Regions from separate parts of the Homo sapiens genome. Here regions 1, 2, 4 and 5 are each linked to region 3. Evidence: promoter capture Hi-C in human tissues and cell types (Jung and others, 2019). All regions are on one chromosome and are shown on one strand. The core of a region is centred on a gene start or on the middle of the fragment in contact, and the rest is flanking DNA. Distances in the headings are between cores, read along the strand shown. Region 1 holds the start of LUC7L (LUC7 like). Region 2 holds the start of NPRL3 (NPR3 like, GATOR1 complex subunit). Region 3 holds the start of CAPN15 (calpain 15). Region 4 holds the start of POLR3K (RNA polymerase III subunit K). Region 5 overlaps LUC7L (LUC7 like).

Evidence for each region. Contacts are between HindIII fragments. The study calls those that stand out against the background at their distance.
Region 1: a contact is called between the fragment with the promoter of LUC7L here and the fragment with the promoter of CAPN15 in region 3, in 5 of the 25 tissues and cell types used here (bladder, dorsolateral prefrontal cortex, lymphoblastoid cells and 2 more).
Region 2: a contact is called between the fragment with the promoter of NPRL3 here and the fragment with the promoter of CAPN15 in region 3, in 2 of the 25 tissues and cell types used here (dorsolateral prefrontal cortex and lymphoblastoid cells).
Region 4: a contact is called between the fragment with the promoter of POLR3K here and the fragment with the promoter of CAPN15 in region 3, in 2 of the 25 tissues and cell types used here (heart right ventricle and lymphoblastoid cells).
Region 5: a fragment that was not itself captured here is called in contact with the fragment with the promoter of CAPN15 in region 3 in 1 of the 25 tissues and cell types used here (lymphoblastoid cells).

The regions. Positions count from the first base shown.
Region 1 is chr16:227,210-231,769 of GRCh38, reverse strand. LUC7L (LUC7 like) reads left to right here and starts at 2,321. Exons shown (of 10, transcript NM_201412.3): 1 at 2,321-2,491; 2 at 4,434-4,528. The coding sequence starts at 2,431. It also overlaps the pseudogene C4orf46P1. RefSeq lists an enhancer at 1,949-2,645 and a silencer at 2,478-2,707. The HindIII fragment of the contact is 19,974 bases long and covers 1-4,560 here.
Region 2 is chr16:137,137-141,692 of GRCh38, reverse strand. It overlaps NPRL3 (NPR3 like, GATOR1 complex subunit), which reads left to right and starts at 3,020. Exons shown (of 14, transcript NM_001077350.3): 1 at 3,020-3,051; 2 at 3,359-3,543. The coding sequence starts at 3,426. RefSeq lists an enhancer at 3,091-3,140 and a silencer at 3,361-3,590. The HindIII fragment of the contact is 17,392 bases long and covers 1-4,556 here.
Region 3 is chr16:525,221-530,320 of GRCh38, reverse strand. It overlaps CAPN15 (calpain 15), which reads right to left and starts at 2,609. Exons shown (of 14, transcript NM_005632.3): 1 at 2,292-2,609. It overlaps LINC00235 (long intergenic non-protein coding RNA 235), which reads left to right and starts at 2,914. Exons shown (of 1, transcript NR_024121.1): 1 at 2,914-3,474. RefSeq lists an enhancer at 3,489-4,050. The HindIII fragment of the contact is 8,144 bases long and covers 1-3,634 here.
Region 4 is chr16:50,014-54,857 of GRCh38, reverse strand. It overlaps POLR3K (RNA polymerase III subunit K), which reads left to right and starts at 1,250. Exons shown (of 3, transcript NM_016310.5): 1 at 1,250-1,382; 2 at 3,213-3,300. The coding sequence starts at 1,272. SNRNP25 (small nuclear ribonucleoprotein U11/U12 subunit 25) reads right to left here and starts at 1,030. Exons shown (of 5, transcript NM_024571.4): 1 at 800-1,030. The coding sequence starts at 841. RefSeq lists silencers at 680-779, 920-1,239 and enhancers at 1,570-1,729, 1,458-1,984. The HindIII fragment of the contact is 23,499 bases long and covers 1-4,844 here.
Region 5 is chr16:190,653-195,702 of GRCh38, reverse strand. It overlaps LUC7L (LUC7 like), which reads left to right. Exons shown (of 10, transcript NM_201412.3): 7 at 2,688-2,776. Among named protein-coding and RNA genes, the nearest start is that of HBQ1, 13 kb to the right of the region's middle. The HindIII fragment of the contact is 8,652 bases long and covers 1-5,050 here.

The sequences.
Region 1 (4,560 bases), core at 1,072-3,571, 300 kb after region 3:
GGTAGCCCTGTGGCTCTATTAATATTAACCATCTATTGATGAAGTTAACTTTCATAAAGGATTCTACGAAAGTTCAGAGGCATGAAGTATGTAAGGACAAACAAGTACTGGTCCGCAACAAAAATAGCATCGGTATTCTGCTTTCAGAAAAGCCAAGAAAACCAAGAAAAAATTCATTCTGAGTATATACAGAACTGCTGGACAGAGGTCATCCTATACGTGTGGTACACGTACAAATATGACATAAGAAGAAGTATGAATTATTGCAGTCATTATTAAACAACGAAGTATGCCAAATTAGTCATCAGGTTTCAAAGAATCATAGCCTTCTTTCCATAGGTCCCGCCACGTTTTAAGGAAACGTGCCTTTTCTGTACATTTGAAGGCAAGTTCTTCCACTTGAGCTGATACTGCAGATGTGGCTTCAAGAAGTTTGGTTAATGAAAAGGCTGCGTCTCCGATCTGCAGCCCCACTTCCTCCAGCGGGTCCACCGTTCGGCCGCTGCTCCTGCTCGGAACTGGCCAGCCCAAACTCACTGGGCTGCCAGGGTAAGATGCTGCAGAGGCGTCTGAAGAGGAGGGAGAAGGAGGCGGCGGGGGCGGCGAAGAAACCTGCAACTTCTCAGGGTCGGCCATGGGGAAGGGCTGGCACCGCGGAATCCGACCCGAGCAGCCCAACGGACACCCTATTTATTTATTTTAAATAGAGAGCAGGGGCCTGGCGTTCTGGCTCACAGCTGTAATCCGAGGACTTTGGGAGGCTGAGGTGGGCGGATCACCTGAGGTTAGGAGTTTAAGACCAGCCTGGCCAACATGGCGGAACCCCGTCTCTGCAAAAGTACAAAAAAAAAGTTAGTCGGGAATGATGGCGGGTGCCTGTAATCCCAGCTACTGGGGAGACTGAGACAAGAGAATCGCTTGAACCCAGGAGTCAGAGGATGCAGGAAGCCGAGATCGCGCCACTGCACTCCAGGCTGGGCGACAGAGGGAGACTCCGTCTCAAAAATAAATAAAATACGGCAGGGCGCGGTGGCTCACGCCTGTAATCTCAGCACTTTGGGAGGCCGAGGCAGGCAGATCACAAGGTCAGAAGTTCAAGACCAGCCTGGCCAATACGGTACAACACCGTGTCTACCGAAAATACAAAAATCAGCTGGGCATGGTGGCTGGCTACTTGAGGTCAAGACTTTGAGACCAGCCTGGCCAGCATGGTGAAACCCCGTCTCTACTTAACATTCAAAAATTAGCCGGAGGGGGTGGCGGGCGCCTGAAATTCCAGCTACTGGGGAGACTGAGGCAGGAGAATCGCTTCAACCCGGGAGGCGGAGCTTACAGTGAGCCGAGATCGCGCCACAGCATTCCAGCCTGGGTGACAGAGCAAGACTCCGTCTCAAAAAAAAAATAAACAAATAAAAAATAAAGACCGGGCGTGGTGGCTCATGCCTGTAATCCCAGCACTTTGGGAGGTTGAGGCAGGAGAATCGCTTGAACCCAGGAGGCGGAGGTTGCGGAGAGCCAAGATCGCGCCATTGCACTCTAGCCTGGGCGAAACTCCGTCTCAAAAATAAATAAATAAATAATAGAGGTTTAATATAATAGAAGTATATGCCAGACTATGCACACATAAGTGCATGCTATAATTCTATTATCACATAAAATAACTGCTTACATATGCCTTTTCTTTAGTCCCTGGGACAGTAGACCATGAGCTCACAAAAGGACGACCACGAGGTTGTAATCATAGAACCTAATATTAATGCCATGACTGATGGCCAAACGTGGTGGTTCACACCAGTAATCCCAATACTTTGCCGGGCTGAGGCGGGAGGATAAGGAGCCGGGGAGGTCGAGGCTGCAGTGAGCGGTAATCGCGCCACTGCATTCCAGCCTGGGCGACGGAGCAAGACCCTCGCTCTAAATAAATAAATAAATAAATAAATAAAATTCCATGCTTTATTTAACTTTCACAAAAATCATATGAGGGGCACCTTTAGAACCCTCATTTCACAGATTTAAAAAAACGAGCGTCGGGGAGCTAAATAATATGCTCACGGTTTCATGGCTAGCTTAGAAAAAGCACGGATTCATCTTGTTTTTGATTGACTGTATTTCATTTTATTGTAGTTTACCCTCCGTAGAGACTCGTTTGAGGTCCTGGGGGTCTAGAGTAAAATCAGGGTTGGGATTTTGGTTCCGCCGTTGGACAACTTGCGACCACTCAGAGCCTCAGCCTCCCTAAGCACCCACCCCAGAAACTACATTTCCCAGCAGGGCGTGCGCCGGCGCCGTCGTACTTCCTCCCGGCGTCCCCCGCGGCGGGAAAGAGCCGAGTGGGCTCGAGGCCGACGCGACCATCGTTTGTCGACGCCGCTGCCACCGCCTGCCTGAGAGAAGTCGTCGCGGCCGACCCCGTCGCCTCCGCCGGCTACCATGTCCGCCCAGGCGCAGATGCGGGCCCTGCTGGACCAGCTCATGGGCACGGCTCGGGACGGTGAGTCAGAGCGGCCAACCAGGCGAGGGTCTGGGGTGGGAGTGAGGCGAGGCCGCCGGGCGGCCTGAGGCGGGGGCCGCGATCGTCTGCGCCTGCGCCTGCGCGGGGCATCGCTCCTCCTCCCCCGCGCTCCGACCGCAGGCGCCGGGCCTTTGTCTAAGCCGGTGCGTCTCTGAGGCGGCCGTGGGTCCAGGTCGGGCTCCTCTCTCGGAGTCTGCGCCATGGATGGGGCTTCAGCCTCCTTCCTATGTACCGTCCTGCTACTTCCTCCCCGGCGGGCGCCGCGGCTCCGTGCCCCTCCGCGAACTGTGGAGTCGGCGGAGGGCTGGAATCAGCGTGGGCTCCAGGTCGCTGGCAGCCGGGTGGCAGAACTCTTCCGAGGCTCCTTGGGAAGAAGCTACACCCGAGGGAGCCGGATGGGCCTCGAAAACCTGGCCCGCTCTGGTTCTGTACCATTGCAAGGGGAACCGTAAACTGAGCTTTTCTAACGTGGGTTTCTGCCAAGTACTTTTCCAGCTGCCCCCTTCCCCCCAGCACACAGGAGAGCCTCTGTGTAGCCAGCGCTTGACAGTCGTTAGGTAGGTTGTACTGTGTAGGGAGGAGCTCAAGATCATGATGGTTGTCACAGGAGAAAGCGGTTGCATCTTTGCAAAACTATATACCTGCTGTGGTTTGTGTTTTCTTTTCTGCTGAGTAATGAAGTTGTAAGTTCACACTGGCACATTCTCAGGGCTGTGCAGATTATTTGCACTTTATTTCATAGGTGAATAAGTGCTTTTTAGCTTTCTTTGTATATTGAGTTGCTTTTGAATTGCTTCCCATATTTTTATTTCATACAAACTGAACAATTGTGGCCCCTCTATTTTATTTATAAAGGTTCAGTGTATCTTTGCCTGCCTACATCAATCTGCAAGGGAGTTGCAGAAAGCCTCATGTTCATCGAGCCGTGAGTCACAACCAATTTCTAAGCTGTTATAACAAAAAAGTGTTTGCTTTTTTTCACAAGTAACTTTAAAAGTGTAGTTTAGAAAGAAAACATTTTCAATAAAAAGACACTACATTAATCCTGGATGCTTGCAAATCCTAAAATATATTCCTCCTCTAGCGTTGCACAGCTCTGTGTTGTATACACAGACTAGCTTTAAAATTTGTCACATACCACTTTACCTTTACTTTTATGTATCATTCCCCCGACTTCCTTACTGCAGGTGTGGGCAAGAAAACTTTTCCTTTAACACTTTTCAACAGCGGGCATAAAATTCTGCAGCTGAGGTCTTGAAGAATGCAGATGGGTACAGTATGTGTTGGAGCTCACAGTGTGTATTGACTAACCTAGTTCCTTTTTTGCTTTTTTTGGTATTGTCTTGTTAAAAGTGACTCCCAGGTAGCAACTCTCTTTTTTAAGGGTGGGAACGAAAGGGACGTAGGAAGAATAGATCTAGATTATTTAACAGTCTTCGATAGAGTTTGAAAGCTTTCTTCTTCATTCAATTTTGGGCAAAATACTGCCTCTGCATTTGTTCATAACAAAAAGATTAGATTAATAAGTAGCTTTTGTTGGTGGAAATTACCAGCTCTATAAGTCACCCTTGGTGGTTCATGGACCTCTGATTAGCTTGGGTTTTGCAGTCTCATTGCCACATGTATATGTGGAGCCAATGGCCTTTTGGTGCTCAGCTGTTTACGTCTGACTCCTTGACTTCTTTGGTACAGTGATGGAGTCAGATCTCATTAAGTGTGATTCTCCATGATATAACTAGCCTCAAAAAAATGTGTATTCCACTCCAGTTGTAAATATCTTTAGATCAGCTTTTCATTGCATTTGATGGGGAGAACACAGAAATGATAGTCTGCAAATCATCCAGGTGAATTGTTATACTAGTTATTTTTTGGTGGTTAATGTGATAATATTGTCTTATTTAAAACCACAAATGAATTTCAGGAGACGAAACCAGACAGAGGGTCAAGTTTACAGATGACCGTGTCTGCAAGAGTCACCTTCTGGACTGCTGCCCCCATGACATCCTGGCTGGGACGGTAGGTGCATTTTGGGGGACCTCATGGAACAC
Region 2 (4,556 bases), core at 1,771-4,270, 390 kb after region 3:
GGCAGGAGAATGATGTGAACCTGGTAGGTGGAGCTTGCAGTGAACTGAGATTGTGCCACTGCCCTCCAGCCTGGGTGATAGAGCGAGACTCTGTCTCAAAAAAAAAAAAAAAATGTTATGCAGCCCTGTGCAAGAAAACGCACCTGTTGGTACTGTTGAGCCATTTCAAATGCACGTACCCTTCACCCTGGTGAGGCCAATCCACAAATTTGTTCTGCAAAATACACATTAGTGTCAGTGTTGGTGCAAGAGGGTTACTTGCAACAGTGAAAATGCTCATCCCTCAGTCAAGTGGTTAGGTTCTGATGCATTTGATGTGCTTGGGAAAGTTCTGGAAGCAGCCAAAGAAGCTCATTACCTTTAGTTACCTCCTGGGGAAGCCTGGGATAGGGTAGGTGGGGTGATTTTTTAAAAAACAACTTCATTGAGATATAATTTACCATACCATACCAATTTGCATACCATAAAGCTTATCCACTTCAAGTGTACACTTCCATATCTTTTTTTTGTTTTTGAGATGGAGTCTCGCTCTGTCGCCCAGGCTGGAGTGCAATGGTGCGATCTTGGCTCACTGCAAGCTCCGCCTCCCGGGTTCACACCATTCTCCTGCCTCAGCCTCCTGAGTATCTGGGACTACAGGCGCCCGCACCATGTCCAGCTAATTTTTTGTATTTTTAGTAGACACGGGGTTTCACTGTCTTAGCCAGGATGGTCTCGATCTCCTGACCTCGCGATCCGCCTGCCTTGGCCTCCCAAAGCGCTGGGATTACAGGCATGAGCCACTGCGCCCGGCACTTCCATGTCTTTTAGTGTATTCGCGTTCTCAGAGCTGTCCAACCATTACCACAGTCAACGTTAGAACATTTTCATCACTCCCCTTCAAAAAACCCATGAATCGCTCCATATTTCCCCTGACCCCCTGGAAGCCCTAGGCAGCCACTAATCATTCTGTCTCTATGGATTTGCCTATTCTGGGCATCTTATATAAATGGAATCATATATTAGTGTGTCTTCAAGATGGATTCATGTGCCGTACTTCATTCCTTTTTATGGCTGAATAGTATTCCCTTAAACAAACTATACCATATTCACCCATTCATCAATTGATATACCCTAGGATTGCTTCCACTTTGGGCTATTATGAATAATATTACTAAGAACACACATGTTTTTGTGTGGACATATGCTTTCATTTCTCTTGGCTATATATCTAAAAGGGGGATTTGCCGAGTGTTGTGTTAACTCTAACCTTTCAGGAACTGCCAGCCTGTTTTCCATAGCGAGTGTAGCCTCTTACATTCCCACCAGCAGGAGAGAGATTCCCGTTTCTCCACACCCCTGCTGACGCTTGTCTTTTTGATTACAGCCATCGTAGGAGGTGTGATGTGGCATCTATTTGTAGTTTTGATTTGCATCTCCCTAATGCCTAATAATGTTGAGCATTTTTAATTTCTGTTTTGCCCAGGCTGGTCTGGAGTTCCTGGCCTCTCAGCGCTGGGGTCACAGGCGTAAGCCTCTACCAGTTGAGCTGAGCATCTTCTGGTGCTTATTGGCCATTTGCATAATGCACTGGAAAAATATTCATATCCTTTGTGCATTTTTCAATTGTCTTTTTATTGTTGAGTTGTAAGTTTCCTCCATTCTAGATACAATTCCCTTATCAGATATGTAACTTACAAATATTTTCTCCCGTTCTGTGGGTGGACTTTTAATTTTCTTGATGGTGTCCTTTAAAGCACCGAAGTTTTTGTTTTGTTTTGAGATGGAGTCTCGCTCTGTCGCCAGGCCAGAGTTCAGTGGCACGATCTCGGCTCACTGCAACCTCCGCCTCCCGGCTTCAAGCGATTCTCCTGCCTCAGCCTCCCGAGTAGCTGGGATTAGAAGCAGGCGCCGCCAAACCCAGCTAATTTTTGTATTTTTAGTAGAGAGACGGGGTTTTACCATGTTGGCCAGGATGGTCTAGATCTCCTGATCTCATGATCTGCCCACCTCGGCCTCCCAAAGTGCTGGGATTTCAGGCGTGAGCCACCGCGCCCGGCCGCAGTAAAGTTTTTAATCTGATGAAGTTTAATTTATTCTTCTGTAGTCGCTCCTGCCTTTAGTGTCACTGCCTCGCCCAAGGTCTCAAAGATCTCCTGTCGGCTTCCAAGTGTTTTTTTTTTTTTTTTTTTTTTTTGAGACGGAGTCTCGCTCTGTCGCCTAGGCTGTAGTGCAGTGGCGCAATCTCGGCTCACCGCAAGCTCCGCCTCCCGGGTTCAAGCGATTTTCCTGTCTCAGCCTCCCGAGTAGCTGGGATTACAGGCGCCCGCCACCACGCCCGGCTAATTTTTTTTTTTTTTTTTGTAGAGACGGGGTTTCACCATGTTGGCCAGGATGGTCTCGAACTCCTGACCTCGTGATTCACCCGCCTCGGCCTCCCAAAGTGCTGGGATTACAGGCGTGAGCCACCGCGCCCGGCCTTTTTTTTTTCTTTTTTCTTTCTTTCTTTCTTTTTTTTTTTTTTGATACGGGGTCTCGTCGCTCTGTCGCCCAGGGTGGAGTGCAATGGCGTGATCTTGGCTCAATGCAACCTCCGCCTCCCGGGTTCAAGCGATTCTCCTCTAGGATTACGGGCGCCTGCCACCACGCCCGGATAATTTCTTCTAATTTTTAGTAGAGATGGGGTTTCACTATGTTAGCTAGGATGGTCTCGATCTCCTGACCTCGTGATCCGCCCGCCTCGGCCTCCCAAAATGCTGGGATTACAGGCGTGAGCCACCGCGCCCCGCCCAAGTGTTATTTGTAAAACGAAGAAACCAACATCGAGAGGGACGCTGACTCGACCCCGCGCCTTTCCCATCCGCACCAGCAAGAGGGGCCCCTGTGCCCCAAACGCGAACCGTACGGCTCCAGACAGCACCGCGGAACTCGGTGGCTTCCAGAAGGCCCCGCGCCTGCGCATTCCGCTGCCTGCGCCTGCGCCTGCGCCTGCGCCGTTCTCCCGGCCGCCGCCTTAGCACCTCCTCCGGACGGTGTCGCCGAAGTCTCGCGAGCCCGGAGCGTGGCACGTGGGTTGGTAACTGTGGCGCTGCTCCGCGTCCACCACCACCCCTGTCCTCCTCAGGCCCCCTCCGCCTCCACCCCTGCCCTCCTCAGGCCCCCTCCGCCTCCACCCCTGCCCTACTCAGGCCCCCTCCGCCTCCACCCCTGCCCTCCTCAGGCCCCCTCCGCCTCCACCCCTGCCCTCCTCAGGCCCCCTCCGCCTCCACCCCTGCCCTCCTCAGGCCCCCTCCGCCTCCACCCCTGCCCTCCTCAGGCCCCCTGCGTCCCCGCCTCGTCCTCCTCAGGCCCCCTCCGCCTCCGGCTCCGTCCTCCTCAGGCCCCCTCCGCCTCCGGCTCCGTCCTCCTCTGGCCCCCTCCGCCCCCGGCCCCGGCCCCACGGCGGGATGCGGGACAACACCAGCCCCATCAGCGTGATTCTGGTGAGCTCGGGGAGCAGGGGCAATAAGCTGCTGTTCAGGTACCCCTTCCAGAGAAGCCAGGAGCACCCGGCGTCCCAGACAAGTAAGTGAGCGCTGGGCGGGGGCCTGGCGCTCGCGGGGGCCGCCTCATTCCGGGGTCGCCTCATTCCAGGGCCGCCTCGCGGAGCTTAGCTTTTGCTGGGCATTCGAGATCTGCTCGTTGTAGAGTATTTGAAAAGTAGAAAAAGGAAAAAAAAAATTAAAATCATGCATTGTTCACCACACCAAAGCAACTACTGCTGACATTTCATCAGTCTCCAGCCTTTAAAAAATAAAGTAAAATAAAATAAAATGAGTTTGGGATGTATTCATCATGAGAAAATACAAAATTACACGAACAAGGCCGGTGGCGGTAATCCCAGCACTTTGGGAGGCCGAGGCGGGTGGATCACCTGAGGTCAGGAGTTCGAGACCAGCCTGGCCAACATGGTTGAAACTCTGTCTCTACTGAAAAAATAAAAATAAAAAAAAACAAATTAGCCGAGCGTGGTGGTGCGTGCCCATAATCCTAGCTACTTGGGAGGCTGAGGCAGGAGAATTGCTTGAACCCGGGAGGCGGAGGTTTCAGTGAACCGAGATCGCGCCACTGGATTCCAGCCTGGGCAACAGAGCAAGACTCCGTCTCAAAAAAAAAAAAAAAAGTTACGTGAACATCTGAAGTTGTCTTTGCCACCCCCAGTTCTAGCAAGCACAGGGATCACCCCTGGCCGTGTTGGGAGTTGTCTGCCCTGTGCATAGATGCAGATCTATCCACAGGAAAAGGGAACGTCGCGTGAGGTTTTTCATCGCACGAATTGTTCTGTGGCGCCCTTTTCCCATAGTCGGCCTTGGAGCTCCGTCTGCCTTTGCAAGCAGGGATCAACCTCACCCTTGGCTGCAGGCTGCTGCCTTCCCCTGTGGACGGCATGTAGGTTACTTTTGATTTTTCATCATCATGAATGTTCAGTTTTTGTTTTTATTTTATTTATTTTTTGAGACGGAGTCTCACTCTGTCGCCCAGGCTGGAGTTGAGTGGCGTGATCTCGGCTCACTGCAGCCTCCACCTCCCGGGCTCAA
Region 3 (5,100 bases), core at 1,360-3,859:
TGCATAGCGCTAGACACTAGGCCTACCAAGAAACAGAAACGGACCCTGCCCTCGGCGCCACATCCAGCAGGGAGACAGGGCGGTCCCAAGTGTAAGTGCTGCAGGCAGATCCCACAGTGGGGAGCCAGGGACCAGCTACAGGGTCACATGAGAACCGCACAGACCTCAGCGTTCTCTCCAGCGTGGGGCATGAGAGGCCAGTGGCTCCACACAGCTGAGGCACAGCCTGGTGGTGAGAAAACCCACATCCACACCGAGTGGGTACGAGGGATGCGGAAGGGCTTTAGGCAGAGAACAAGTCCCACTGGGCTTCTGGGCACTCCTGCTGTGCCAGGGGTCAGAGGGCAGGACCAGAGGGACAGAGCAGGAAAACAGGAGAGCAAAGCGCACGAGGCAGCCCCCGGGTTGGGGGCCTCCTTCTTCTGTGTCTTATGAGGAAACCACCCAAGCCCACCCTCCGTGTCTCCTGTCATTTCAGCCTCACGGTCCAGGGCCGAGTGGCCACCCAGGACAGACACAGACCTGACAAGTCACCAGCCTTCCTGGGTTTCTGTCACTGTTTTTCAAAGACCCCAAGCTGTTTTGTTTAATGATGTCGTCCTCCTTCTCAGCACCTGTCCACGCCTGTTGCCATGAGTAGAGGCATCACACCGCGGGCCAGAGGGCTGGACCAGGGGCAACTCGGCCACCAACGGCCGAGTTCTTCACTGAGCGGCTCAGGCCCATGAACAACACCTGTGGTTCCGGAGGATTTTCCGGGCAGCAGAATCCTTCCCTCCAATTGCCTCGTGTGAACTGGTGGAACCAGCAGGAGGGAGAGACCAGGCGCTCAGCCTCCCTCGGCCCCTCCCCTGCCATGAACAGCTGTCTCCAGCTTCGGTTCCTCACCTGTGGCACTGGGGTTACCGGAGTGCTGCCCAAGGCCAGGGCAAGAAGCAAGTGAGGGGTGCCCGGAGAGAGAGCCAGCAGGGCTTGAGGCTGTCACACAGATGCAGCATTACAGGGGACCAGCCACTTCCTGCTCTCAGAGACCACGGTCTGTGGAGGCCCAGACAAGAGGCCCTGCGCAGTTATGCAGTTACTGAGCCTCGGGCTCTCCTGGGGACTCAGAGGTCACTGGCTCCTCTGCCAATCAAGGAGCTCTGGAGAGCCTCAGACACAGACAGAAGCAGGAAAAAGAGGGGTGCTCCTCCCGCAAGCAGAAGGACCTCGGAGGAGGCAAGGCACACCCAACCCAAGGCCAGGCCAAGCTGGTTTCCTGCAGGACCTGCCTCCCCCAGACAGGCCAGAAAAACAATTTCTCTTGCCCCACTTCACAGTTGAGAAGTCACTCAGAACCGGAAGGGAGAATCACCCCTATATCCTTGCCCAGCCCCAGACTCTGGAAACGCGGAGGCAATTACGGGGCACTCCCACACTGAACTGTGACTCACGTTTCCGCACCCCTCAGACCTGGGCAGAGGAAGAGATCCGGGTTTCCCGAAGGAGAAGCACACAACTCTTCAGCACCCAACGGAGTCCCAGTCTTCCCCACTGGCCCCACACACCCAGGCCTGGCCTCAGGTTCTGGGCCTCACCATTGCTTTCCGGGTCTTGTTACCTGCAGTCCGGTAACAAACTCCAGAGCAGTAAGGGGGCCCCGAGAGCTCGCCCGGCCAGGGCCAGCTGACCACACAAGAGTTCCCCCGGTCAGGACTAGAGGGGCCCCTTCTGCAGCCAGCGGGAGGACAGCAGATTTGCAACTTCCCAGCTGGTGCCGCAGCAGCCCCAGAGGAACACGGAAGAGAACACTGGCATGGCTGGCACAGACGGGGCTCCCGCCAGCCCCTCCACGCCAGGTGGCCGCCCCCAGGCCGTTCCCCAAGTGAGGGGAGTGATGCCCGCACCAAGCACAACATCCCTAAGGCGGCCAGGACCGCACGATGGGCCCGGATATAAGGGCACTCAAGGGCAGGCAGGGCCGAGGCCGCCTCCGGTGTGCGCGGCCCCCGGGGCTGGCCTCAAGTGACCCACATGGCCCAGGTCCCTGCCGACTTCCCGCCTTCCTCTGGGTTCCTCTGCGAAGCATCGCCCAGCCCTGGCCCCCACCAGCCTGGAGGCGCCAGCGGGCGGCGGGCTGACCCCACTCCGGGGGCCCTGCCGTCCCTGCCCTGGCTCGGAGCCCGGCGCGCCCGGCCCCCGAGGCCTCCTGCGCCCCGCCGAGCCCGCGCTCCCCGCCGCCCTCCGGGCCCGCGCTCCCCGCCCGGGGTCCCCGGCTGGGCGCCCGGCCGGGCCCGGCCGACGGGACTCACCTCCACAGCCCGGCGGCGCCGCCTCGTCCTCGCGGCCCGGGCAGCGCGGCCCCGGCCCCCGGGCCCGCTCGCCCCCGCCGGCCGATCCACAACTTCTGCCTCCGGAGAGCGGCGGGGCCCCTCTCGCCGCCGGCCGCGCTGCCCGGACGGCCTCCCGCTCCTCAGCCGCGGGGCGCCCCGACCCGGCTCCGGCCCCGGCCCCTGCCCGCGTCCGGCGCCCGCCTTACGCTGCCTTCGTAGCGTAGCGCCCGGCCCGGGCCCCGCGGCTACGGCGCGCCCGGGGCGCACGCGGCGCTGTGAATCGCGCGCCCGGACTACGGCTCCCACAGGGCTGCGCGGCGCCGACGGGGCGGAAGCTCGGGGCGGTGCCTGCGCGAGGCAGGCCGGGAGTTGTAGTCCTCGGGTGGCGCCCTCCCAGTCCGCCGACCGCCCGGGCCACTTCTCCTGCCCTCGCTGCTGGAGACGGCCGGGCCCGAGGCCTCGGTCCCCGGGAGGCGCCGCGCTCCAGGATTATCAGGGAGTGGGGCGGCCCGAGGAGGAGCTGGAACTACAACTCCCAGAGGGCCTTGCGAGGGGCACGGAGGGGCGGGGCCTGCAGCCGCGGCGTCTGCGCATCAGCGGCGTCACAGACGCGTGGGGCTCGCGGGGAGCCGGGCTGGGGCCGTCCGTGTCCCGCGGGGCTCTGGGCGGCCGCTCGACCGAGGACCCACGACTCCGCCCCGACCCCGCCGTGTTCGCGAGACCCGGAGACCCCTTCGCGCCTTCCAGGACCGCCCCTTTCGCGACGCTGCGTGCTGTGCTTGGTCCTGGCGGCCAAGAGCGGCGGTGGCAAGGGGACCGCCCTGGCCCGAGACGCGGCCTGGCCTCGCAGCGTCGCTTGGGCACAGCCTCTCTAGGCCCCTTCGTCCTCGGTCGCGGAGGGACGCCATTAAACGGCCACGCCGGGCTCAACTGGGACGCGGCCCACGGCGCCCAACCAGGGCCTGGGGGAGGGAAGCCGGGGCGACTCCTGGGTCCTTCCAGGACCCTTGCGCAGGCCTCATTCTCTCCCCGGAGGTCCCCTTCCCGCTGCCCTGAGGCCACTCTCCTGCCAGCAGCTGCTGGGCCGGCTCTCGGGAGAATGCCTTGGCGTCAAGCTTATCAGGCTGCAGGGCGGGACGCGAGTGCTGAGGGCAGCCAGACTCCCGCTCTTAGGTGCACTTGAGGAGCCTGAGAAGGCAGTGGCTCTGCGGGAGAGGGAGACACAGGAGCAGGGCTGGTCCGCCGAGATTCCGGAGAGACGGTTGTGGGCCGATTCTGTGGCGAGATTTACAAGTGGGAGGTTGGGTGACGATTGCTCCTGGGCCAGAAAATCTAAGCCAGTCTCAGCAAGACCTACAAGGCCAGGGCCAGTGCTCCTCAGAGGATATTCATGCTCCAGGAAAGCCAAGGATGGGCCTCCGTCATGCTGAGATGCCGCAGCAGGGACACCTGTGTCCCACGTGGAGCTCGGCTTCTAGCTGCAGTCAGTGCAGAAGCTGGCAGGAGGGGTTTATTTCTGTCCTCGGAAGCTTTTGGTAAGGACACTTCATTCCTGTGTCTTGGACACCTCCCCCTAGGTCTGCTGCCCCCTCTGTGGAGACAGGCAGGGCAGCTGGATGTGCCGTTTGTTCCCAGACTATATCCATGCCAAAGCATCCCAAGGGCAGGAAATGTGTCCCCGGGGGCCAGTGGGGGTCTGGGGGCACAGAGGGCTGCAGAGTGAGAGCTGGCTCTCCTCTCTGCAACTTGGACAAGGCTCTGGGACCCTGTCCTCCCCAGCTTCCTCACCTGCATGGCAGGATACTGGCCAAGTGTGGCTTTCGAACCACAGGAGAGGGTGCAGTCAAGGCCTCACTCAGGGACCGCAGGTTCTCTTCCCTTCCCAGTCCTTCCCTGGCACTGCCTAGGTGGCTCCCTGGCCAGGGGCCAGTGGTCTAGCCAGCAGGCCTTATAACCTCCCCACCAGAGAGGCAGCTGCAGTTGAACCTGTTGATCTGATGCTGAGGGCCCTGCCAGCTCACTGCAGAGTGGCCAGTTCTGGCCAGTTTTGCTAGGCCAGGCCCATTTGGGGTGAGGAGAGGGTGGGAGCACCCCAGCTCTCCCCAGTAGCCTGTCATGGTGAAGGAGGAAGCCCATTCACCCAGAAGAGGGCCTCAGGAGGCGTCTTCAAGGTGACTGAGGTTTCCCCGCACAAGGAGAGTGCTGGAGGGAATGGGTGCGATGAGAGAAATGAGTCACTCGTGCCTCCGTGAGGCCAGCCTGTGATTGTCTTGAAGATTCTGAGTCACAAGACATCAGGCACACAGGCGTGAATTGTAAATGACTGCACAGCAGAAGGTAAGTGACTCTGGATTATCCAGACCATTGACCGAGCCCTGCTCCGTGCCAGTGCTTCCTGGCCTGAGGACACGACTCTCACATCCAGACAGACCTGAGCAGCTAACGCAAGTGCGCAGAAGCTCGCCAAGTGCCCAGAAGAGCCAAGAGGCGAGCCATGAATCCCCCCTGGAGGAGAAGAGGATGGGGAGGGCCAAACAGAAAGAACTGAAACTGGAGGCATCTGTTCAGGCACCCAGAGAAAGCCTCACGCGCACAAAGCAGCAAACAGAACAAACCCCAGTGCCATCATGGAGCCCAGACTTGAGCACACAGGGACCCTGGCGTGGAGCACGAGGGTGCCAAGGCCCGCAGGTGGCTGACTTGTGTGCTCTGGTGCCATGCTCAGATTTGATGGGATGACCCTGCAATTGCCTGCTTTGTGAGCCACACAGGCCTGGGTCAAAAAGAC
Region 4 (4,844 bases), core at 1-2,500, 470 kb after region 3:
AATACAAAAAATTAGCCGGGCGTGGTGGCGCGTGCCTGTAGTGAACCCGGGAGGGGGAGGTTGCAGTGAGTCGAGATGGCACCACTACACTCCAGCCTGGCAACGGACCAAGACTCAGTCTCAAATAAATAAATAAATAAATAAAAAGACAGTATCGTCCCAAAGCATGATACTGACGCTTTGACACATGATTGACGCTTGAGGCAAATGGAACAATCAGTACTACTAATCTTGCTCTTATTTAAAACTAAATTTTTCTTTTACCGTAGGCTCTTTTTTTGCCTCAACTTTGACTTTTAAAGGTATTACAGGCCAGGCGGGTGGCTCACACCTAAATCCCAGCATTTTGGGAGGCCGAGGCAGGAGGATCGCCTGAGCCCAGGAGTTTCAGATCAGCCTGGGCAACATAGTGAGACTCCCTCTGTACAAAATATTTAAAAATTAGCCGGGTGTGGTAGCGCGCACCTGTGGTCCCAATTACTCGGGAGGCTGAGGTGGGAGGACGCCGCTGCACTCCAGCCCGGGCAACGCAGCAAGACCCTGTCCCCCGAGCCCCCTAAATACAATTACATTAAAATGTCATTTGATGTCACTCACTAATGAGGTTTTTGGTTCCTCTTTAAGCTTCGCGCCCCAGGCGAGTGCGCCCGGTCAAGGTTAAAACCCTCGTTTACGCCCAGAGGCGCCTTCCTCAGCCTTGGGCCGCAGTCTCCCACCAGCACCTTCGGAGGCTGCCGGCGCCCGGATGCCCGGACCCCGGGGAACGACTCCCGCGCCCCCAGCCCCCGCCCGCACACACCTGGATCGGCAGATCGCAGAGCAGCGGGTCCTGCACCACCATAGCCAGACCCTCCTGGAACACGTCCATGGCCTCGGAGTGCGGCAGCGCCTCTTCTTCGTCCTCATCTTCCTCTTGCGCCTCGGGCCCACCCGCGGCCTCCGTCTCCTCCAGGGCCGCCCCTCTCAGCCGGGCTCTGCCCGCACTGCCAGCCCGCACTAGGGAGGCCAAGCGCGCACGCGCAGGAACTGCGGCCCGCCCCAGCGAGGCCGCCCAGCCACTGGCGCGCCGGGGGGGGTGGGGCGGCTGCAGTGACCAATGACAAGTGCGAGACAGCCTGCAGCAGGGCCGGGAGCGCAGAATCGCCCTGTCTATTGGTTGGTTGGTGTGGCGGGAAGGCTGCCAGGACCAATGTGAGCTCGAGGCGGGCGGCGCATCGGCGCTGAGCGGCAGTGGGAGCTGCCGGGAGTTGGAGCCTGCGGAGTTCGAGACCATGCTGCTGTTCTGCCCCGGCTGCGGGAACGGGCTGATCGTGGAGGAGGGACAACGCTGCCACCGCTTCGCCTGCAACACGTGCCCCTACGTGCACAACATCACCCGCAAGGTGGGACCCGAAGGCCGGCGCTGGGCGCGGGCGACTCTCGCAGGCCTTCCGCGTCCTCCGACTGCTGCTCCATCGCCGCCAGCCCCGGCGTCTGCCTCTGTCCGCTCTTTCTCGCGCCCCTTTCTGGTCTGCAGCAGATCTGTGGGCTCTACTTTCCAATACACTCAGAAAGCCCCACCGTTTCCCACCGCCTTGGGTTCCTGCTCCCACGCTCGCGCCCTTCTCTGCGTTCACAGCGGCGGCCACGGTGATTTCCTTAAAGCTGAGGCACGCAGGTCCGTGCTGTGCGCAGAAACCTTCGGCTCTTCTCCAGCTCACGCAGACGAAAAGCCGGAGTTCTCCCAGGGCCTACCAGGTTCCGACACTGACTCCCTCCCCTGCGTGCGTCTCCGATTTCAAGTCCTAATGCCCTTCCTGTTGCCCTTTGCCGCATCAACACCGCCTCCTGGACGATCTCTCATCGTGCTCATGGTGCTAGCAGGGCCTTTGCACTTGCTGTTGCTCAGTTCACTCTTCCCCTAGATCGCCACCTTACTCATTGGTCTTGTCTTTACCGTATTTTAAATTTCAGCCCCTCCTTCCAATTTATTCTCCTTCCCTTTGTAATTGTTTCCATAGGGCTTATTACCTTCTAATATATTATGTAATGTATTGTGTGCTTTCTTTATTTTTTTTTATTGTTTTTTTTTTTTTTTTTTTTTTTTTTTTTTGAGACGGAGTCCCGCTCTGTCGCCCAGGCTGGAGTGCAGTGGCGCGATCTCGGCTCACTGCAAGCTCTGCCTCCCGGGTTCACGCCACTCTCCTGCCTCAGCCTCCCAATTAGCTGGGACTACAGGCGTCCGCCACCACCCCTGGCTGATTTTTTTGTATTTTTAGTAGAGATGGGGTTTCACCGTGTGTTAGCCAGGACGGTCTCCTGACCTCGTGATCTGCCCGCCTCGGCCTCCCAAAGTGCTGGGATTACAGGCGTGAGCCACCGCGCCCGACCTTTTTTTTTTTTTTTTTTTTTTTTTTTTTTTTTTTTTTTTTGAGACAGAGTCTCGCTCTGTTTCCCAGGCTGGAGTGCAATGGCGTAATCTCGGCTCACTGCAACCTCTGCCTCCCGGGTTCAAGCAATTCTTCTGCCTCGGCTTCCCGAGTAGCTGGAATTACAGGCGCCTGCCACCATCCCCGGCTAATTTTTGTATTTTTAGTAAAGACGGGGTTTCACCGCGCTGGCCAGGCTGGTCTCGAACTCCCAACCTCAGGTGATCCGCTTGCCTTGGCCTCCCAAAGTGCTGGGATTATAGGCGTGAGCCACCACGCCTGGCCAGAATACCTTTACTTTTTAGCAGTTAGAATATGTTGGTGCTACGTCAGTCTTAATGTTTGCATGCTACTCCAGTTTGTACTGTGTTGTGGGAGTTTGGAGTTTGAAACTACGGGAAGAGTGAACTCTTTGTTTTTTTTTTTTTTTGAGATGGAGTCTTGCTCCGTAGCCCAGGCTGGAGTGCAGTGGTGTGATCTCGGCTCACTGCAAGCTCCGCCTCCCAGGTTCACACCATTCTCCTGCCTCAGCCTCCTGAGTAGCTGGGACTACAGGCGCCCGCCAACACGCCGGGCTAATTTTTTGTATTTTTAGTAGAGACAGGGTTTCACCGTGTTAGCCAGGATGGTCTCGATCTCTTGACCTCGTGATCCGCCCGTCTTGGCCTCCCAAAGTGCTGGGATTACAGGTGTCAGCCACCACGCCCAGCCGAGTGAACTCTTATGTAATCCTGAAATTTAAGGTTTGGCAGCCCAGGTTTGCGCTATTCAGTTACTTGGAGTCTGAAGTGTTGTTTTTGTTAGGTAACAAATCGGAAGTACCCAAAACTGAAAGAAGTGGATGATGTGCTTGGTGGAGCAGCTGCCTGGGAGAATGTTGACTCTACTGCAGGTAAGAGGGAAAACTGTTTCTGTTGCTAAACTGTGGATAATTATGAGGCTGTTGATGCCACTGCTTGGCAGAGTCTATGATGTCATATAAATGATGTAGGTTTCTAAAAATAGAAAATGGTTCTTGAATAATTTATTTGTATTTGTTACTGTTTAATAATCTGTCAGACAAGCAATATTTGTGCCAGCCTTGGAGTCATACAGGCCCGGGTCAGATTCTCAGGGCAACCTTGTATTGTTGTAGGACCTTCCTTGGGTCTCTTGACTTCTCTGGGGCTAATCCATATTCGTAGACCGCGAGAGCATAAAGTGAATTATACCGTGCTTGGTATATAAGAGGCACTCAACAGGTGATAGCTTTGATAATGGCAATGATGAGTAGATTAATAAAAATAAGAGTCTAAGGAAAAAAGTATGTTCTTTCTGTTTGATATGGTTTGGCTGTGTCTCCACCCTAATCTCATCTTGAATTATAGTTTCCGTAATCCCCAGGTGTCCTGGGAGGGGCCCAGTGGGAGGTAATTGAATCATGGGAGCGGTTTCCCCCCATGCTGTTCTCCTGATAGTGAGTGAGTTCTCACAAGATCAGATCGTTTTATAAGCGTTTGCGTTTCCCCTGCTCGCACTCATTCTGTCTCCTGCTGCTCTGTGAAGAGGTTCCTTTCGCCATGATTGTAGGTTTCCTGAGGCATCCCCAGCCACGCAGAACTGTGAGTAAATTAGACCTCTTTTCTTGGCTGGGTGTCGTGGCTCACGCCTGTAAATCCCAGCAGTTTGGGAGGCCAAGGTAGGCAGATCACTTGAGGTCAGGAGTTCCAGACCAGCCTGGCCCGCATGGTGAAACCCTGTCTCTATTAAAGATAAAATAATTAGCCGGGTGTGGTGGCGCTCGCCTGTAGACCCAACTGCTCAGGAGGCTGAGGTACGAGAATTGCTTGAACCCAGGAGGCAGAGGTTGCAGTGAGCCGAGATCACACTACTGCACTCTAGCCTCGGTGACAAGAGTGAGACTCTGTCTCAAAACAAACAAAACCCCTTTTGTCTATATAAATTACCCAGTCTCAGGTATTCATAGCAGTGTGAGAACGGACTAATACACGCTTCTAATATAGATTTTTAGAAGTTAATACCAGTGAGCATTAAACTGCAGATTGGGTAAAATACATGTTTATTGCATGTCTGGTAGACATAGATGTGGCCAGGAGAGGAAAGGGGAAGACGTAAATGTAAGTTATATTGAGAGGTGAGAGAGATAACTGATGGTTAGTACTGTGGTTTTCCCCCTATAAAAGAACATATAGGCTGGGTGTGGTGGCTCACGCCTGCAATCTCAGCACTTTGGGAGGCCGAGGCGGGCGGATCACCTGAGGTCAGGAGTTCGAGACCAGCCTGGCTAACACGGTGAAACCCCATTTCTGCTAAAAATACAAAAAATTAGCCAGGCGTGGTGGCAGCACCTGTAATCCCAGCTACTCGGGAGGCTGAGACAGGAGAATCGCTTGAACCCGGGAAGTGGAGGTTGCAGTGAGCCAAGATTGCATCATT
Region 5 (5,050 bases), core at 1,243-3,742, 330 kb after region 3:
GCCTGTAATTCCAGTCTTTAGGAGGCCAAGGCAGGAGAATCGATTGAATCCAGGAGTTTGAGACCAGCGTGGGCAACATAAGGAGACCCTGTCTCTACCAAAAATTTAAAAATTAGCCAAGCATGGTGGTGTGTGCCTGTAGGTCCAGCTACTCAGGAGGCTGAGGTAAGAGGATTGTTTGGACCTTGGAGCTCAAGGCTGCAGTGAACTGTGATCACGACACTACACTCCAACCTAGACAACAGAGGATTTTTTTCGTTTTTTTTTTCAGAGACAGGGTCTCCCTCTGGCACCCAGGGTGGAGTGTACTGATGTGATGGTAGCTGATAGCTTATTGTCACTGTAACCTGGAACTCCTGGACTCAAGTGGCCCTGCATCCTGAGTCTCCTGAGTAGCAGAGACTACAGGCATGCACCACCATATCTGGCTCATTTTTTTTTTTTAGGTAGGAGGTCTTACTATGTTTCCCAGGCTGGTCTCAAACTCCTGTCCTCACATGATCCTCCCAGTTCAGCCTCCCAGAGTGCTGAAATGGCATGAGCCACCGTACCTGGCTTAAATGCCATCCTTAAACATCACCTTAAAGGTGTCCATCCATGTGTGCCCTGCTTCAGACACAGGATGAGCATGGGTGAAAGTTTAGAGCTGGAGATACCAGTCACCCAGCTCTGCATACTTTCCGTGCCCTTGTGGGGAGCGTGCTCTCATCCACACTGGGTATGGAAGATTATCCTTATGCCATCGTGGCTCTCTGGATGGAGAAGACTCGTGATTCTTTGTCTTACTGGCTCTGACTTGCTCCCACTCAGGGCTTCACTTGACACAGATGAGGGGCATTAAATGTCTTAGAGTTGATATTGGGAGTAGTGGGTATACAGAACGGTGCCCGGTGCTTTTCCACTCAGCTTGTGTTGACGGTATTTTCATTGGCGAGGTTTCTCATCCCCTTATATTGCTTTCTTCATCAAGCCTGATGATTCACATCATCCTGTGTTGAAAGCCAGTTGCAGAGGATTTGTGGTCCACCTCCCCTGGCCTGCTGTCCTCCAACTCAGTTTGTTCTAAAGCCAGCGTAGCACCCAGCACCCTGAGGTTGGGCTGCTTTTTGGCTGTAGGGATTCTGCTCCCAGTAGCAAGATGTGTTTGATGAGATACATCCGTCCTTTTTTACCATAAAGTTTGTACAGTCTCCTACCTATCTGGGTTGGTTTGAAACAATGTGATCAATTCCCTGTGAGTTAGAAGTATAGCACCACTTAGAATAGACAGTTTGTTACCACATTGTTAAAATCTAATGATAGGCTGGGTGGTTCAGGCCTGTAACCCCAGCACTTTGGGAGGCCAAGGCAGGAGGATTGCTTGAGTTGAGGAGTTCAAGCTCAGCCTGGGCAACATAGCAAGATTCCATCTCCATAAAAAATGTTTAAAGATTAGTCTGCCATGGTGGCACACGCCTATAGTCCCAGCTACTCAGGAGGCGGAGCTAAAGAGGCTTGCTTGAGCCTGGGAGGTCAAGGCTCCGGTGAGCTGTGATTGCGCCACTGCACTCCATCCAGCCTGGGTGGACAGAGCAAGACCCTGTTTCAAAAAAAAAAAAGTGGCCAAGCGCGGTGGCTCATGCCTATAATCCCAGCACTGTGGGAGGCCGAGGCGGGCGGATCGTGAGGTCAGGAGATCGAGACCATCCTGGCTAACATGGTGAAACTCTGTCTCTACTAAAAATACAAAAAATTAGCCGGGCGCAGTGCCGGGCGCCTGTAATCCCAGCTACTCCGGAGGCCAGGACAGGAGAATGGCGTGAACCCGGGAGGCGGAGCTTGCGGCGAGCCGAGATTGCGCCACTGCACTCCAGCCTGGGTGACAGAGCGAGACTCCGTCTCAAAAAAAAAAAAAAAGTAAATGTAAACGAGGCCGGGTGCAGTGCCTCACGCCTGTAATTGCTGCACTTTGGGAGGCCGAGGCAGGCATATCACAAGGTTAGGAGTTTGCGACAAGCCAGACCAACATGGTGAAACCCCGTCTCTACTAAACATACAAAAATTAGCCGGCCGTGCTGGCACGCTTGTAATCCCAGCTACTCAGGAGGCTGAGGCAGAAGAATCGCTTGAACCCAGGAGGCAGAGGCTTCAGTGAGCAAAGATCGCGCCACTGCACTGGGCAACAGGGCGGACTCTGTCTCAGGAAAAAAAAATGTAATGATAAAGCATTTTTTCATGTGTTATCTTCTTCATTAAGAAGTTTTAAAAATGAATGTGTTGGCCGGGCGCGGTGGCTCATGCCTGTAATCCCAGCACTTTGGGAGGCTGAGGCAGGCGGGTCACAAGGTCAAGAGATCAAGACCATCCTGGCCAACATGGTGAAACCCCATCTCTACTAAAAATACAAAAATTAGTTGGGTGTGGTGGCATGTGCCTGTAATCCCAGCTACTTGGGAGGCCGAGGCAGAAGAATAGGTTGAACTCGAGGTGGAAGTTGCAGTGAGCCGAGATCACGCCACTGCACTCCAGCCTGGTGACAGTGAGACACCGTTTCAAAGAGAAAAAAAAAAGTATTCCCATTTCCTAAAAGTGTCCCTTCAATTTTTAAATTACCAATACTGAGCTCATATAAAGGTGATTTGTTAAGTAGCATTCACACTCTGGTTTGTGTAACTTGCTCTTCCTCATTTTTTGTTTCATTTATTTAGAAAACTGTCGCTGAAAAGCAGGAGAAGAGAAATCAGGATCGCTTGAGGAGGAGAGAGGAGAGGGAACGGGAGGAGCGTCTGAGCAGGAGGTGAGCCTGAGGGCTGGCACTGGATGGCCTGCATTGGCCTCGGGCATTCCCTGCTCGGTCCATTCCACTGTTGCTTGGAATAGGCAGGGCCTGCCCAATAGGCCGTTATAAAAGAAAATAGTAAGGCCAGGCCTGGCGGCTCACGCCTGTAATCCTGTCAGTTTGGGAGGCTGAGGCGGGCAGAACACTTGAGGTCAGGGGTTCGAGACCAGCCTGGCCAACATGGTGAAACCTTGTCTCTACTAAAAATACAGAAATTAGCTGGGCGTGCTGGCATGAGCCTGTAATCCTAGCTACTCGGAGGCTGAGGTGGGAGAATCACTTGAGCCCGGGAGGCAGAGGTTGCAGTGAGCCGAGATCGTGCCACTGCACTCTAGCCTGGGCAACAGAGACTCCATCTCAACCAAAAAAAAAAAAAAAAAAAGTAAACAGCATATTCAGTCCAACAAAACAAAACAAAACACGTCCCAGCGCAGGACTGTGTGTGCATGGCAGTCAGGTAAGGGATCCAAGCTGTTGGAGGCTGTGTGTGGGCACTGCTGTTTACTTACTGAGTGCTATGGGGCCATTGGACACCTGTTTACGCAGGAGGGGTGGTGCCTGCTCCCCTTTGGCAAGCGTGCTGGGCTGGAGTAGAAGCAGCAGGACCTTGGGGAGCTAGGTGGGAAAATCCAGATGGAGGAGGTGGCAGTTTAAGCCAGGTAAGGGGTGCAAGGAGTCGGGGAAAGTTCTGGGATAGAACTGATGGGATTTGCTGGTAGTGTGTGAAGCGTGCAGAGGAGGAAATGAAGCTGGTCTCCTGGTTTCTGGCCCGGAGTTGCTGCTTGGTGAGGTTGGAAGGCTGGGTGTGGTGTATTGGAGTGGGAGGAGGTGGGAAGTAGAAGATGCCTCTGGCCACACTCAGCTTGAGAGGCCATCTTGAGGTGGGGCTGTTGAGTCTGTTTGGAGTTCAAAGAGGTAGGAGCCAGAAGTATCCACATCCTCCTGGAGACAGCTCATTGTCCAGGAAGGTTCCCAAACCACTTTTCCTGAAATAATTCCTCAGTGCATAACTCAGGGCGAATGTTTATTGTGTTTGTTTTTGAGACAGGGTCTCGCTCTGTCACCAGGCTGGAGTGCAGTGGTGCGATATCGGCTCACTGCAGCCTCCACCCCCTGGGTTCAAGCGAGTCTCCTGCCTCTGCCTCCCAAGTAGCTGGGACTACAGGCCTGTGCCATCACGCCCAGCTAATTTTTGTATTTTTAATAGAGACAGGGTTTCACCATGTTGGCCAGGCTGGTCTCGATCTGTTGACCTCATGATCTGCCTGCCTCAGCCTCCCAGAGTGCTGGGATTACAAGCGTGAGCCACCACGCCCGGCCGTTTGTTGTTTTACCAGCAGGAGATTCTGATTGGAGAGAAACTTAAACAGTATAGAAGAAAATATTAAGCAAAACACACAATCCATTTTTTGCATGGAGTTTACATTTTTACATGCACTGTCATGTTTAGGCCATTTGTGTTGCGGATGTACATGGGGCCACTTGACCTTAATGGCTTACGGGCATAGAATGAGGCCTCATAGCTTGCCTTTTTCAGCCTCTTGGTTGTGTGGCAGAATGAGCTGATGACTCTCACCTGACAGGAAGCCTGTGCCTGGAACTTCGGGCTTTGCTTTTCCTTTTCTGTGTTTTTGGTGTGCCCCACTCGCTGTCTGCACATTCTGTGCTGGTGTCTGTTGTAAAGACTGGAGAATCATTTGTAGGACTTGAGTGCAGCACAGTCAGTGTGCACAGACTTTTCACGGCCCTTGTAATGTTACAGGGCTGCGTCTGATGCTCGGATGTGGGCCTGTCTGTGAGGCTCAGGTGACACTGAGTGTGCCACAGAGTGGCTGTGGGGATGGGAGCATTGGCACTTCCCATTCAGACTGGGAACATGCAGGCAGCTTGAAAACAGCAGGTCTTTGGGGGAGGTGCCTCACTTCTTAAATTTGGAGTCCTCCCCCAAGAGGGTGAGGAATAGGGGTGCTTTCGGGAAGTCATTCACTTTTTTTTTTTCTTTTTGAGACAAAGTTTTATTCTTGTTGCCCAGGCTGGAGTGCAGTGGCACAATCTCAGCTCACTGCAACCTCTGCCTCCTAGGTTAAAGTGATTTTCCTGCCTCAGTCTCCTGAGTAGCTGGGATTACAGGCACCCGCCACCACGCCTGGCCAGGTTTTGTGTTCTCAGTAGAGACGGGGTTTCACCACGTTGTCCAGGCTGGTCTCCAGCTCGTGACCTCAGGTGATTGCC